Regions from separate parts of the Homo sapiens genome. Here all the other regions are linked to region 1. The links are contacts of gene promoters, found by promoter capture Hi-C in human tissues and cell types (Jung and others, 2019). All regions are on one chromosome and are shown on one strand. Each heading gives the region's core, a stretch centred on a gene start or on the middle of the fragment in contact. The rest is flanking DNA. Distances are from core to core; before and after follow the strand shown. Region 1 holds the start of BTBD8 (BTB domain containing 8). Region 2 overlaps ZNF644 (zinc finger protein 644). Region 3 has its middle 13 kb from the start of ZNF644.

Evidence for each region. The method cuts DNA at HindIII sites, captures the fragments that hold promoters and counts their contacts. A contact is called where the count stands out against the background at its distance.
Region 2: a contact is called between a fragment that was not itself captured here and the fragment with the promoter of BTBD8 in region 1, in 1 of the 25 tissues and cell types used here (hippocampus).
Region 3: a fragment that was not itself captured here is called in contact with the fragment with the promoter of BTBD8 in region 1 in 1 of the 25 tissues and cell types used here (hippocampus).

The regions. Positions count from the first base shown.
Region 1 is chr1:92,078,453-92,082,766 of GRCh38, reverse strand. It overlaps BTBD8 (BTB domain containing 8), which reads right to left and starts at 2,422. Exons shown (of 18, transcript NM_001376131.1): 1 at 2,047-2,422. The coding sequence starts at 2,195. RefSeq lists an enhancer at 482-1,149. The HindIII fragment of the contact is 3,183 bases long and covers 1,533-4,314 here.
Region 2 is chr1:91,012,116-91,016,429 of GRCh38, reverse strand. All of the region lies in intron 1 of ZNF644 (zinc finger protein 644), which reads left to right. Among named protein-coding and RNA genes, the nearest start is that of ZNF644, 7.8 kb to the left of the region's middle. The HindIII fragment of the contact is 3,761 bases long and covers 196-3,956 here.
Region 3 is chr1:91,032,606-91,036,919 of GRCh38, reverse strand. No RefSeq gene overlaps it. Among named protein-coding and RNA genes, the nearest start is that of ZNF644, 13 kb to the right of the region's middle. The HindIII fragment of the contact is 3,018 bases long and covers 1,098-4,115 here.

The DNA.
Region 1 (4,314 bases), core at 1,173-3,672:
CTACATTGGAGCTGGCTTTTTGACAGCTAAAACTGTCTCCCACTTTTCCTCACTTCTCTACATATCTTGTCACGTCAGGTAACCTAGGAGTGTCTCTGTTCCTTACTATTTGGCAGAGTCTAATACGACTTGCTTTCTCAAAATCAATCAAGCTCTTTCAAATTTCTGTGCTTCCATAAAAGTTATTCCCCTTGTTTAGATATCCTCTACCTCTCCCTTCCCAATCTTTACCTAATCAATTCTTAACCAATCCCTAAGAGCTCACTCAAATGTCACCCTATAAAGTCTTCCCAACTCACCCCACCACAACTATCACTTTTATTTAGCCATTTCCTCTCTCACTAGAGTGTAAGGACAAACAACAAAGCAATGTTTTATTAACGTTTATTACTTAAGACCTAGTACCGGGCTAGGTACGTGGTCAGTGCTAGATACTTCATTAGTATTTGTAGAATAAATAAATGACATTGCTATGCTTGGAGAAAATTAATTTAGTATAGCATTTAAGGTGGTTGGGTGAGCATTTTGTTTTGTTTTGTTTTAAAAAAAAACCTTGCTACATCTATTTTTCTTTGTTTATAATAAGAATTTGAGAGTTCTGAGTCCTACCCTCAGTTGTAACTAAGATAAGGATAAATTGTTCACTAGCAATACTTTAACCTCATTTTCTTCATATAAATTAGATGTGTTACCCTAGAAACGTTAACAACTTTAGTATTATTTTTTCCATCTTTTTCATCAGTCCCTCCCTGGTAGAGACAAAGTAGCTTCCCCAGTAGATAGTCCCAAATTAAAGGGATTTTTTTTTTACTTTGATAAATTCTGTTTATAGCTATCGGAGCCTTAAGTATGGGTGAGTTTTTGACAGAAAGCACTTCAAAATGTAGAATCCTGGCTGGGCGCAGTGGCTCACGCCTGTAATCCCAGCATTTTGGGAGGCCGAGGCGGGCGGATCACTTGTGGTCACGAGTTCGTGACTAGCCTGGCCAACATGATGAAATCCCGTCTCTACTAAAAATACAAAAATTAGCCGGGCGTGGTGGCGCGTGCCTGTAATCCCAGCTACTCGGGAGGTTGAGGCAGGAGAATGGCTTGAACCCGGGAGGTGGAGGTTGCAGTGAGCCGAGATCGCGCCACGGCGCTCCAGCCTGGGCGACAGAGCGAGACTCCGTCTCCAAAAAAAAAAAAGTAGAATGCTGCACAACTTTTAATTATTAGTAATTATGTTTACCTCAGTGGTTCTCATAGTCACCCTAGCCAGCAGCATTAGCATCACTTGGGGCCTTGTTAGAAATGGAAAATTTCAGTGATGCCCACCCAAGTTTAAGAATCAATGTCTTGCTGGAAATGTAAATTAGCTAGGTCATATTTCTAAGCTTCAATTTCTTTGTAAGCTGAAATTACTTTAGCTGGATTCCCAATAACCCGAGAAGGATATCCATGAGGCTTACAAAGGTTAAATGTCAGGAAGACCCTCCATTTGCTTTGGTCCTCACAGGAGCTGAGAGTTGCTGGGAGCTACAGAGAGCTCTAGGTGGAGAGAGGAATCCAGGTCGCAATCAGGAAGCATTTCTGGTAAATTGTTTAAAGAGACCTCAGAAGAGACCTCCAAGACTATAGTATTGTTCTTTCCTCATTTCAAATAATCGTTTTCCTAATTTTATTATTTTTCTTAAAATAGTATAAGCTTATTTTAAAAATTGTGTAAGTTTCAGGACCTGGATCCACCCGACCTTAGTGATTGGAAACAACTAAGCGTGCCTGTGTTGAGATATTTCTAGCAAACTAGTGCTGCACACGACTAAGCTTTTTTTGTTTTCCTTTTGAATCTGGTACATGGTGTCGAGGTGCTCGGGATTGTTTATTCAGGGCGAGCGAAGCCACTTTTCGGAATAGTGGGGAGACTGGCTAACGACCCGCAGTCGCCTGAGGCGAGGAGAACCAAGTGCTGAGGGAGGGGGAGGCAGAGCCGAAAGAAGCCTCAGCTTCGGGGCGGAGGTGGGCGATTTAGGAACTGAAGCAGCCAGAGTTCCCGCCTCCTCCTACCTGAGCAAATCCTGGCTGAGCTGCTCCGACACCGTCGCCTTCAGCCGGCGCCGCTCACACGGCCCCTTCCTTTGCAACCCCTTACTGCAAACTCCAGCGGACCCCAGAAGTACCATGGGGGCCGCACTGCCTTCCCCACAGCGAGCCATGTCTCACAGAGGTACGACGCCCTGGAGGCCCAGTACTTGGCCTCACTTGCCCCGCCCAGGAGGAAGAAGGGGGCGTTTCCGACCGAACGCTCGGCTCCTACCCAAATCCGCCCCCTAGGGTAAAAGGTTGACGCCTCTCGTCGGTTTGTAGACAGTCTCCCAGAGAAGCCGGACCGCGGTGGGGAGCCTCAGAATCCCAGAACCGAGCCGGCTCTTGACCCAGGAAGAGCGTGCGCAGGCGTACTCGCTCTGTTTACTTCTGCCGGCGGGCACCCCGCCTCCCATGGCTCAGGCGCGGACCATCCCGCGGGGCAAACCAATCCTCAGGCTCCTTATCCCCTCCCCTCTTCTTTCCCTTCCGGTTGGTGTTCATTCATTTCAATGTTTTACTGAGGCTCGAGTTCAAATCAGCACATGCAGCCTTTCTATGCTGTGTCTTCCTGACAGGTCTACACTTTTTTCCAACGAAAGACTGGGCGAGTCACACCCCCTCACTTACCTGGCTTCTTAACCCTGAGGTATAAATGTTTGGGGCAAGAAAAATTGGCGATGGGAGGAGTAGGGGAAGAACTTCATAAACTGCCAGTCAGAACAATTCTGAGTTCAATATAAGAGATACTTACAGCATCTAGAAGGCCCCATCCCCTTCTTATCCAAGGAGTGGCTCATACAAGCTTTTGGACTTGATCGGAGAAAGCACAGGGCTTTGCATATAAAGCCCTAACATTTATGACCAAGAAGGGAGAAATAGGTAAGGGGCAAAGTCTTTGAGCAGTGAAGTGATGGATGGATGAAATATAGAATTCTCTTTTGTCCCAAATAAAGTAGCAAACTGATTATCATTTAAGGTTTTGGTATTTTTTATTTGATTACTGCCTCCAAAATAAGGAAACTCAGTAGTTCCGCTTCGGGCCGGGCAAGTCCCATCTACTTGGGAAGCGAGGCGGAATGATGGCTTGAGCCCGGGAGGTCGAGGCTGCAGTGAGCCATGATTGCACCACTGCACTCCAGCCTGAACAGCACAGCAAGACCCTGTCTCAAAAAAAAAAAAAAAAAAAAAAATCTGTTTCATTCACAAACTCTACACACAAGGTGAAGAATAGTAATTGCTTGGAAAATACATTGGCCAGGTTGCGGTGGCTCACACCTGTAATCCCAGCACTTTGGGAAGCCAAGGCGGGAGGATCACTTGAGCCCAGGAATTAGAGACCAGCCTGGGCAACATAAGGAGACCCTGTCTCTACCAAACAAAAAAAAAAAAAAAGGAGGCGGGGAGGGGAATATATGGACTTTGTATTTGTACCATAAGATTGGCCAAGAGGTAACCATTTCTTCAGATAATGCCCCCTCTCAAATATTCAGACATCTTAATTCTGAAAAATATAACTGGATAATTGATTTTTTAAAATTAATTCCCAAATGCTTGGATGGATAATTGATTCTTAATTATTCCTGTAGAAACGAGGGGTGTCAAAGATAACATAATAGTAGCTTATATTTGAATCCTTATTATGTGATAAACGCTACTCTATTTGCTCTGTGTGTTTTAACTCAGTTAATCCTTACAACAACCATTTAGCTAGGTACTGTCTTCAGACCTATTTACAGATGAGGAAGCTGAGGCATACAAAGGATAGGTAAACTTGGCCAAGGTCACACAATGTCATATATCACACTATAATATATGGTGTGTTACACCATAATAATGGTGTATTATAACCCAGGCAGTATTTATATTTTGACTGGCAAATTTAGTCAATTTACATATACTTTTCGTAGGAATGTAAATTGGTGCAGCCATTATGGAAAACAGTATGGAGGTTCCTCAAAAAATTAAAAATAGGACTATGACATGACCCAGCAAACCCTCTTCAGGTATATACCCAAAGGAAATGAAATTAGCACCTCATAGAGATATCTGCACTTTCATGTTTGTTGCCCCATTATTCACAATAGCTAAGATATGGAAACAACCTAACTGTCCCTAGGATAGATTAACGGATAATGTTGTATATATACAATGGAATATTATTCATTCTTAAAAGAGAAGATCCTGCCATTTGTGACAACATGGATGAAGCTGGAGGACGTTAAGTAAAATTAGCCAGGCACAGAAAGA
Region 2 (4,314 bases), core at 827-3,326, 1.1 Mb after region 1:
TAGGAACAATAGGCTATACCAAGTAGCCTAGGTGTGTAAGTAGGCTCTACCATCTAGGTTTGTTTGAGTACACTTTGTGATGTTTGCACAGTGACCAAATTGCCTAAGAATGCATCTCTCAGAATGTACATCCATGCTTAAGTGATGTATGACTGTAAAACTAGTACTTTCAGAGCACCATTTATTGGGGAGGAGAGGGGTAATTCCCAATTTATTGTTGGTTTGTGAAGGTGGGTAAAAGGCTTCACAGAGTTGGAATTAATTGCCTTTTGTTTGCTACTGACTCACTAAATACTTTACACACAGACACACACACACATAGAATCACAATTGCAATTGTAATTATGCATATATAAAGAGGCAGGATATGATAAAGTTTGAAAGTGTAAGCCTTGAAGTAAAATTGACAGGGTTCAGATTTAGCTGTGTGAGCACTAGGCAAGTGGAATTAGTAATTACCATCTTCAAAGAGGTTTAGGGTTGATATTACATAATTCATGTAAAGTCCTTAGCTTTCTGGCATACAATGCTGAGTAAAGTAAGTGTTACCTGTTAGAGTAATAATAGTTATTATTACCATTGTTTAATTATTCTTTCTACATTAACTTGAGATTTTCACCTGTGAGTGATTTGCAGTTGTATACTTTTGCTAATGTCCCATTTTAAGCCATGCCGATAAAGACAAGGTTGTTATAGAGGAAGTGAGAGGTAGGCATCAAAGTGTGCCTTCTCTGATTCTAGCAGCAGAATCTTATAACCAGGTTAAATATTTCAGGAATGCATTCCCAGCACTGTCAGCAGATGAGTAGATACACTTGGGAATGAGTACATTTTAATGAAGTTATTTCCCAGCCAGTGCATTGGTTTGTCTTTGTTATAACATGCTGAATTTCTTCACTCTCCTTTCAATTTTTGACTGTGAGGCCATGTGGTGACTATTAGTAGAGAGAAGAAGGTGAGTGGCTATGCGTATTTGTAATGTACGTATAAACCCAAGATGAGAGTGAGGAGTGGCTGGTAGGTAGCTAGATTGAGGCGGGTGGAATATAATCTTTTCATTGGATAGTCTGAGTTGGGAATTTCCCAAACAGCATTTCCTTTTGCTCTTTTCCTCTCCACACTTTGTTTTGTATATGTCTGTGCTGGTATGGTGTTAAAGTTATCAGTTCCCCCTCTTTAATTTTCTTTCTACCACCAACCTCCTCCTAGCACAAACACGGATTTTAAGCTTATAAGCAAATTTGTCAAAGACAGCTAGTAAAAATAATTTTAGGTTCATTTGAGGAGGGGTACTAGTATGAAATTGTAAGTTTTTCATTTATGCTTGAAAAATACAGCAATTTGGAAAGTGAGGGAGGGGAAGTCACCCATAATCTTATTACCATTATATAATTATTAGTATTAAAGACAGATGACGTTAATTAAGCATCTACTATATTCTTTTAATAATCCTGTGATGTATATATTCCCACTTTACATGTGAGGAAACACATCCACTTAATAATGGAGTAGCCAAGTTTGAACCTAGGTATATCTTGAGAAGGTCTAGAGAGGAGACCTTTCTGTTCTACCTTCCTGTTCTTCTTACATATATATCCTTTTACCTAGTTGTTACACAATTTGTAAGTTTCATCTCCTAGTTTTAAAACTTAGCATTATAAAAACATTTTTCTCCCCCCCCTTATTTCAAGTGGTGTCGTATTGCTCTCATTGTCTATTCATACCACCATATAAAGGCTCTTTGTCTTGGCTGCTGGACATTGGTACAATGATGTTGACCAAAATGGATGCTGCCCTTTACTGAGTGACTAAGATGAAAAAAATCAGGCTTAATCAGAACTAATACTTTATGGGATTTGGATTGCTACAGGTTTAATCATGCTATCTATCCTTGCTGGTGGGACATTTGACTTAGAATTGTATATAAGTAAAATATAGATGAAAAATTGTATAATTTATAGCTATCTGAAAACAACTTTTTTTTAATATTTGAACACTTTGAAATGCCTTACACTTCCTTGTTAAAAATCTTAAAGGGATATTAAAATTAAATGGCACTTAATTACTATTAGTAATTCCTAATATAATATTTAATTCATAAAAGAAAAAAGCTTAATGTTGAATTCTGGCACTCATCGGGAAGATGACATTATATGTTAAGAGATAATTTGTGGGGCATAGTAACTATAGTTAATATTGCATACTTGAAAGTTGCTAGGAGAGTACATTTTAAGTGTTCACACCACAAAATATAACTATGTGAGGTAATGCATGTGTTAATTAGCTAGATTTAACCATTGCATAATTTATATGTATTTCAAAATGTGTTGTACACCATAAATATATACAATTTGTATTTATCAGTTTAAGAAGAAGAAGAAGAAAAAGGTAATTTGTGGGCATTTATAAATAGATTGTATAGGTCAGCACTGCCCAATAGAAATATAAGTTGAGCCACAAATGCAATTTTAGATTTTCTATAGCCACATCAAAAAATAAAATAAATAGGTGAAATTTTATTAATGGATTTTTATTTAACCCAGTATCTAAATACTATTATTTCATCATATAAACATGATTGAACTATTTTACATTTTTTCTTTTTTTAACCATGTTAAGTCTTCAAAATCTGTTAGTATTACATACTTAAAGCACATCTCAATTCAGACTAGCCAGAGTTCAGGTATTCAGTAGCCACATGAAGTTACTGTATTGGACAGTGCAATTACAGATAGTAAGTCCTATGGGGTATAGGGAAAGAATAACATAGAAATTGAACTGAACCGTAAAGGATAGCTGAGAACAGAAAATGCTTGAGAAGAATATTCCCATAAAGAAGTGATAGGAATTAAAACAGCAAATACAGTTTGATACCAGGTAATAGAGTGGCTTGAATCCAGTTTAGGGAATTTGGTTTGGGTGTGTATATGTGTGTGTGTGTGTGTATGTGTGTGTGTGTGTGTGTGTGTGTGTGTGTGAGAGAGAGATTGGAAATATATATTGGAGGGTGCCTAATTCGTGTCTCATACATGAGCACTTGATAAATACTGAATTAACTGGGTGCATTGGCTCATGCCTGTAGTCCCAGCACTATGGGAGGCTGAGGTCGGCAGATCGCCTGAGGTCAGGAGTTTGAGACCAGCTTGGCCAATATGATGAAATATCCCGTCTCTACTGAAAATACAAAAATTAGCTGGGCATGGTGGTGTGCACCTATAATGCCACCTACTTGGGAGGCTGAGGCGGGAGAATTGCTTAAACATGAGAGGCGGAGGTTGCAGTAAGCCAAGATCATGCCACTGCATCCCCACCTGGGCGACAGAGTGAGACTCAGTCTCCAAAAAACAAAAGAAAAAAGATAAATATTGAATTAATATTTAGAGAGAATTAATATGACACTACAGAAAATGCTGGAAAAAACATCCTAACAAAGCCTAGTCGATCTTCAAAAGGGAAAGTGTTTCATTTAGGGAATATTGATGTTCTGTGATTAACAATATGATGGAGATTGATAAAGAAGGATGAGAATTGAGAAAAGGTTTTTAGATTTAGCTATTAATTGGTTACTTGTTTTTAAGTATTTTTTTTAGGTATAACATACAGTGAAGTGCACAAATCTTAAGTACAACTCAGTGAATTTATACATATAAGTATACCTAGGTAACTCCCAGGTAGTGGGAGGTACTGGGTTACACCTGGGGAGAAGAGGATGTAAAAAAAGCACAGACATGAGAATTGTGGAATGCAAGCATTTTCCGTGATTAGAGCCTATTTTAAATGAAATACCCAGATAGAGATGTAGAATATTTTTCTTCACTGATTAAAGGTGCCTTGTGCTCCCTCCTATTAATTTCTCCCTACAGAAGTAACCACTATTTTAACCTCTAACCTCTATCACCATAAATTAGTTTTTGCTTGTTTCTTTTTCTTTTCCTTCCTTTTTTTTTCTTTTGAGACAGGGTCTCAGTCTGTCACCCTAGCTGGAGTGCATTGGCGCAATCTCAGCTCACTGCAGCCTTCACCTCCCAGGCTCAAGCGATCCTCCTCCTTCAGCTTCCTGAGTACCTGGAACTACAGGTGCATGCCATCATGCCTGGCTGATTTTTTTTTTTTTTCTTTCGGTAGTAGAGATAGGGTTTTACCATGTTGCCCGGGCTGGAGTTTTTGTTTCTAAACTTCTTATGGCATATTTGTCCTCCCTCCCAAGGGTAGTGAGAATTGATGCTTGAATCCATCTCTCTTTTCTTCTGTCCTTGTTTGGCATTGTTATGAATTGGGAGGTAAATCAGGTGATATTTGGTACTATGGCCCTTT
Region 3 (4,314 bases), core at 1,357-3,856, 1.0 Mb after region 1:
GTTGATTCATAGGATTACTTAAGAATCCTTTGCTTGAAGTGCCCATAGTGGTTTCTTATTTATCAACTCTTAGTGTTGAGCTACAGTCACGATAATAGAATGTAAGCTTCACAGGGACAGGGATCTTGTCAATTTTGTTTATAGCATTGTGCCCAGGATCCTAAACAGTGTGATTCCTGCGATCCAGTAGGCATACAATAGATAATGGCTGACTGAATTAGCATGTCAGTGATGGAATCCCAAACTTGGCTCTTACAACAATTTAGGTATCTTGTACTCTGGCACTTTGCAGAGAGAAATCATAAACTCATAGATGCCAGGAGAAAAACGATTTCCACGACGGTTTGCCTGAAGGCTCGCAGGCCAATCTTTCAAGATACAAGCAAACCTAAGGGTGGGTGAGGGGAGGCAGAGTAGGTTACCTTTGGGAAGAGGGGAAATTCTTCACAAGTCACCACAGATAACTCACAAAGCAGTCTGTCTTAAGGGTTATTTATGTAAGTATTCTCCAATTATTTATCTAAATAAAAAGTACTGAGAGCACACTTATAATAGTAATAAGCCTAACAATTCCTTATCTCAATAGTTAAGCTTCCGAAAACTAGGGGAAATTAAGAATTCCAGCGTCAAACCTTCTTCACTTTTTTTTTTTTTTTTTTTTTTTTTTTTTTTTTTTTTTGAGACGGCGTCTCCCTCTGTCGCCCCAGACTGGAGTGCAGTGGCGCGATCTCGGTTCACTGCAAGCTCCGCCTCCCGGGTTCACGCCATTCTCCTGCCTCAGCCTCCCGAGTAGCTGGGACTACAGGCGCCCGCCACCGTGCACGGCTAATTTTTTTCGTATTTTTAGTAGAGACGGGGTTTCACCGTGGTCTGGATCTCCTGATCTCGTGATCCGCCTGCCTCGGCCTCCCAAAGTGCTGGGATTACAGGCGTGAGCCACCGTGCCCTGCCGCCTTCTTCACTTTTAAGAGGCTGATTCATGAATCTGCTCTTATTTTCTGTTACTATTTCAACTATTCATCCTGGCAAGTATACTTGCAGGCACGATACTGATATTTGGCTCCATGTATGCTTTACATTTAATTAGGGATGATGATTATCCTGGGATTTCTGGCCAGATTACTTATGATGGCTATATAGAGAATCTGTGCATTGACCTCGTTTAGGGAAGTATCTGGCACACGATTTCTTTTCCTATTAAAAAGTCACGGCCAGGAGCGGTGGCTCACACCTTTAATCCCAGCACTTTGGGAGGCCAAGGCCGACAGATCATGAGGTCAAGAGATCCAGACCATCCTGGCCAACATGGTGAAACCCCGTCTCTACTAAAAATACAAAAATTAGCTGGATGTGGTGGTGCGTGCCTGTAGTCCCAGCTACTCGGGAGGCTGAGGCAGGAGAATCGCTTAAACCCGGGAGGTGGAGGTTGCAGTGAGCTGAGATCACACCACTGCACTCCATCCTGGCAACAGCAGAGCGAAACTCCGTCTCAAAAAAAAAAATTCACTATTTTTGGCCAGGTGTGGTGGCTCACACCTGTAATCCCAGCACTTTGGGAGGCTAAGGTGGGTGGACCACTTGAGGCCAGGAGTTCGAGACAAGCTTGGCCAACATGGTGAAACCTTGTCTCTACTAAAAATACAAAAATTAGCCAGGCCTGATGGTGGGTGCTTGTAATCCTAGCTACTTGGGAGGTGGAGGCAGAAGAGTTGCTTGAACACAGGAGGTGGAGGATGCAGTGAGCTGAGATTGCACTACTGCACTCCAGCCTGGGTGACAGAGAGAGACTCCACCTCAAACAAACAAAAAAATTCACTATCTTTATAGGGATAGAGAGATTAACACTTTGTCTCTTTAGGGATATTGCAGGCAGATGCTCCTTATTCCATTTTGTTCCTTTTTAGGAAAGTCTCGTTGTCACAAGAAAACTTCTACCGGGGCTATTACAAGACCATTTCGTTTTTATGCACAATGCAAAAAGTTGTTGCTTTTTCTGTTTCTAGTGCTTCTTTGCAACATTTTTTTCATATTAGTCAGATTGGCTATCACTGCTCATTTCCAAAGCCTACTGCCAAACTCATCAATTTCTATTCCCAACCTTTAGGCATTTGGTATTTTCGCCTTTTCACTAAAATAAATATCCCTTATGCATTCGTGCACATTTTAAATTTTTTTAGGCTAACAACAGCAGAAGAGAAAAGAACATGTGTATGTCTATCTTTTCCTCTTTATTACTGTTTAGTATTCTCTTCTGGTGGTGCCCTAAAAGACAGAATATTCTATCCTAGAATTATAATTTCATATGGGATTTCCTAGTATACTCAAAACTGATGTAATGGTAGAAAGAAAGTTTTACTTTTCTATCTCCCCTCAAAGCAAATGTGATTACTATCTTTACATTCTCTCTTCCCCTGCCTGGTGTGTGTGTGTGTGTGTGTAAACACACAACTGCAGATATTTGAGTATTATGTATCTGATATCTCTCTTTAAAGAGGATAAAGAGATACACTTCCATTTGATGCAACAGTGATACATTACTTAATATGTACAGATTTTCTAATAATCTGTTATCCAAACTGTGGGTGAGATAGCAATTTAGCATTCATCTTTAATGAAAAGTCATTGTGAAAATTTATTGAATTTCAAAGAAAGAAAATACCTAAACCTGTTATCTGACAGCATACTAGATAGCTGTGAACATTTCCTTGGGCCCTCAGGTCTCTAGTTATAGATCCTACAAATTCAGTGTTGGCCACACACCTCTCCCAACTTTTAATATCCACAGTAGGCGGGGTGCGGTGGCTCAAGCCTGTAATCCTAGCATTTTGGGAGGCTGAGATGGGCAGCTGATGAGGTCAGGAGTTCGAGACCAGCCTGGCCAAAATGGTGAAACCCCGTCTCTACAACAATACAAAAACTAGCCGTGCGTGGTGGCACGTGGCTGCAGTCCCAGCTACTCGGGAGGCTGAGTAAGGAGAATTGCTTGAACTCGGGAGGCAGAGGTTGCAGTGAGCCAAGATCACACCACTGCACTCCAGCCTGGGCAACAGAGCAAGACTCTGTCTTGGAAAAGAAAAATTATATGTGTGTATATATATATCCACAATAAAAAGGAGGAACCTGAGATGGGTCAAGCTTGAAAATGGGCACTTGCAATGAGGCCACCTTGATTATTAATGGTCAAGTGATGTGTGGCTGATATGAGTCCCGGGGAGACCTATGCTTGGGAAATGCACAGTCCTCTGAGGTCTGCAAGTGATCAGTGTTAGATCCTGTGGGAGTACGTTGCATATTCAGACATGTAAGCCTCAAAGCATGGATCATGTATATTTGGACTATTGTATATTCAGTACCACCTGACGCCTCACAGCTGAGTTAAAGGGCCTCAATAGATAGCTGTTGAATGAATGGATGAAAAATATCTTGGCATGTCTGACAAAGTGGTGGAGCAGATGCCATAGAAATCTGAGTGCTCAAGAGATTAAAGAAACTTCTGGGAGATTAAAGAAACTTCTGGGAGATGAAATGTGTTCAGAGGAAAAACAGGACTGTGTCTCTTTGCCTGTACTATTGACATGTGCTATAGAAAATTACATAATGATATGGAAGTAGTGTTACCATAGATTCTTGGTCCCCAATATCAACAGAACCTCCAGCTCTATTCAAATGCCAAGAGTTCTGGGTCTGGGTTCTCCAGCAGCTGTTTCAAACCTACTCCACCTTCTTCAAGACTTCTGCCAACCTATTTTAGGTCATTTGTGCAGAAAGCTTTGCTGCCAATCTTACCAACAAAATAGACAGCATTTGAGCAAAGAAATCTTTCATCTGCCTGATACCCCATGTTGAAATATGTCAAATAGGAGTGTTATCTGTCTCTGTCCAAGTGTACTCTGAATACCCTTCATATTCAACCACTACAAGAAACTCTCTCCTTCCATGCTCTCTCTTTAAAAACACTTTAAAGAATTTTATTCAAACTATTGTATATTGTAACAATAAACAGTACATATTTAAAGTGTACAATTTCATAAGTTTTGACATATATCTACACCAATGAATCCATCACCACATTCAAGAAAATAAACATACCACCCCCAAACATTTCCTCATTTCCTAATATAAAACCCTTACCCTCACACCTGCCTCTTCTTCCTCCACAACAGGCAACCACTGATTTGTTGTCTGTCACTGCAGATTAGTTGCATTTTCTAGGGTTTTATATAAAGATAATCACACAGCAACTATTCTGTTAGGTAGGCTGGCTTTATACATTAATCTACTGATGGGCATTCATGTTGTTTCCAGTTTTTGGCT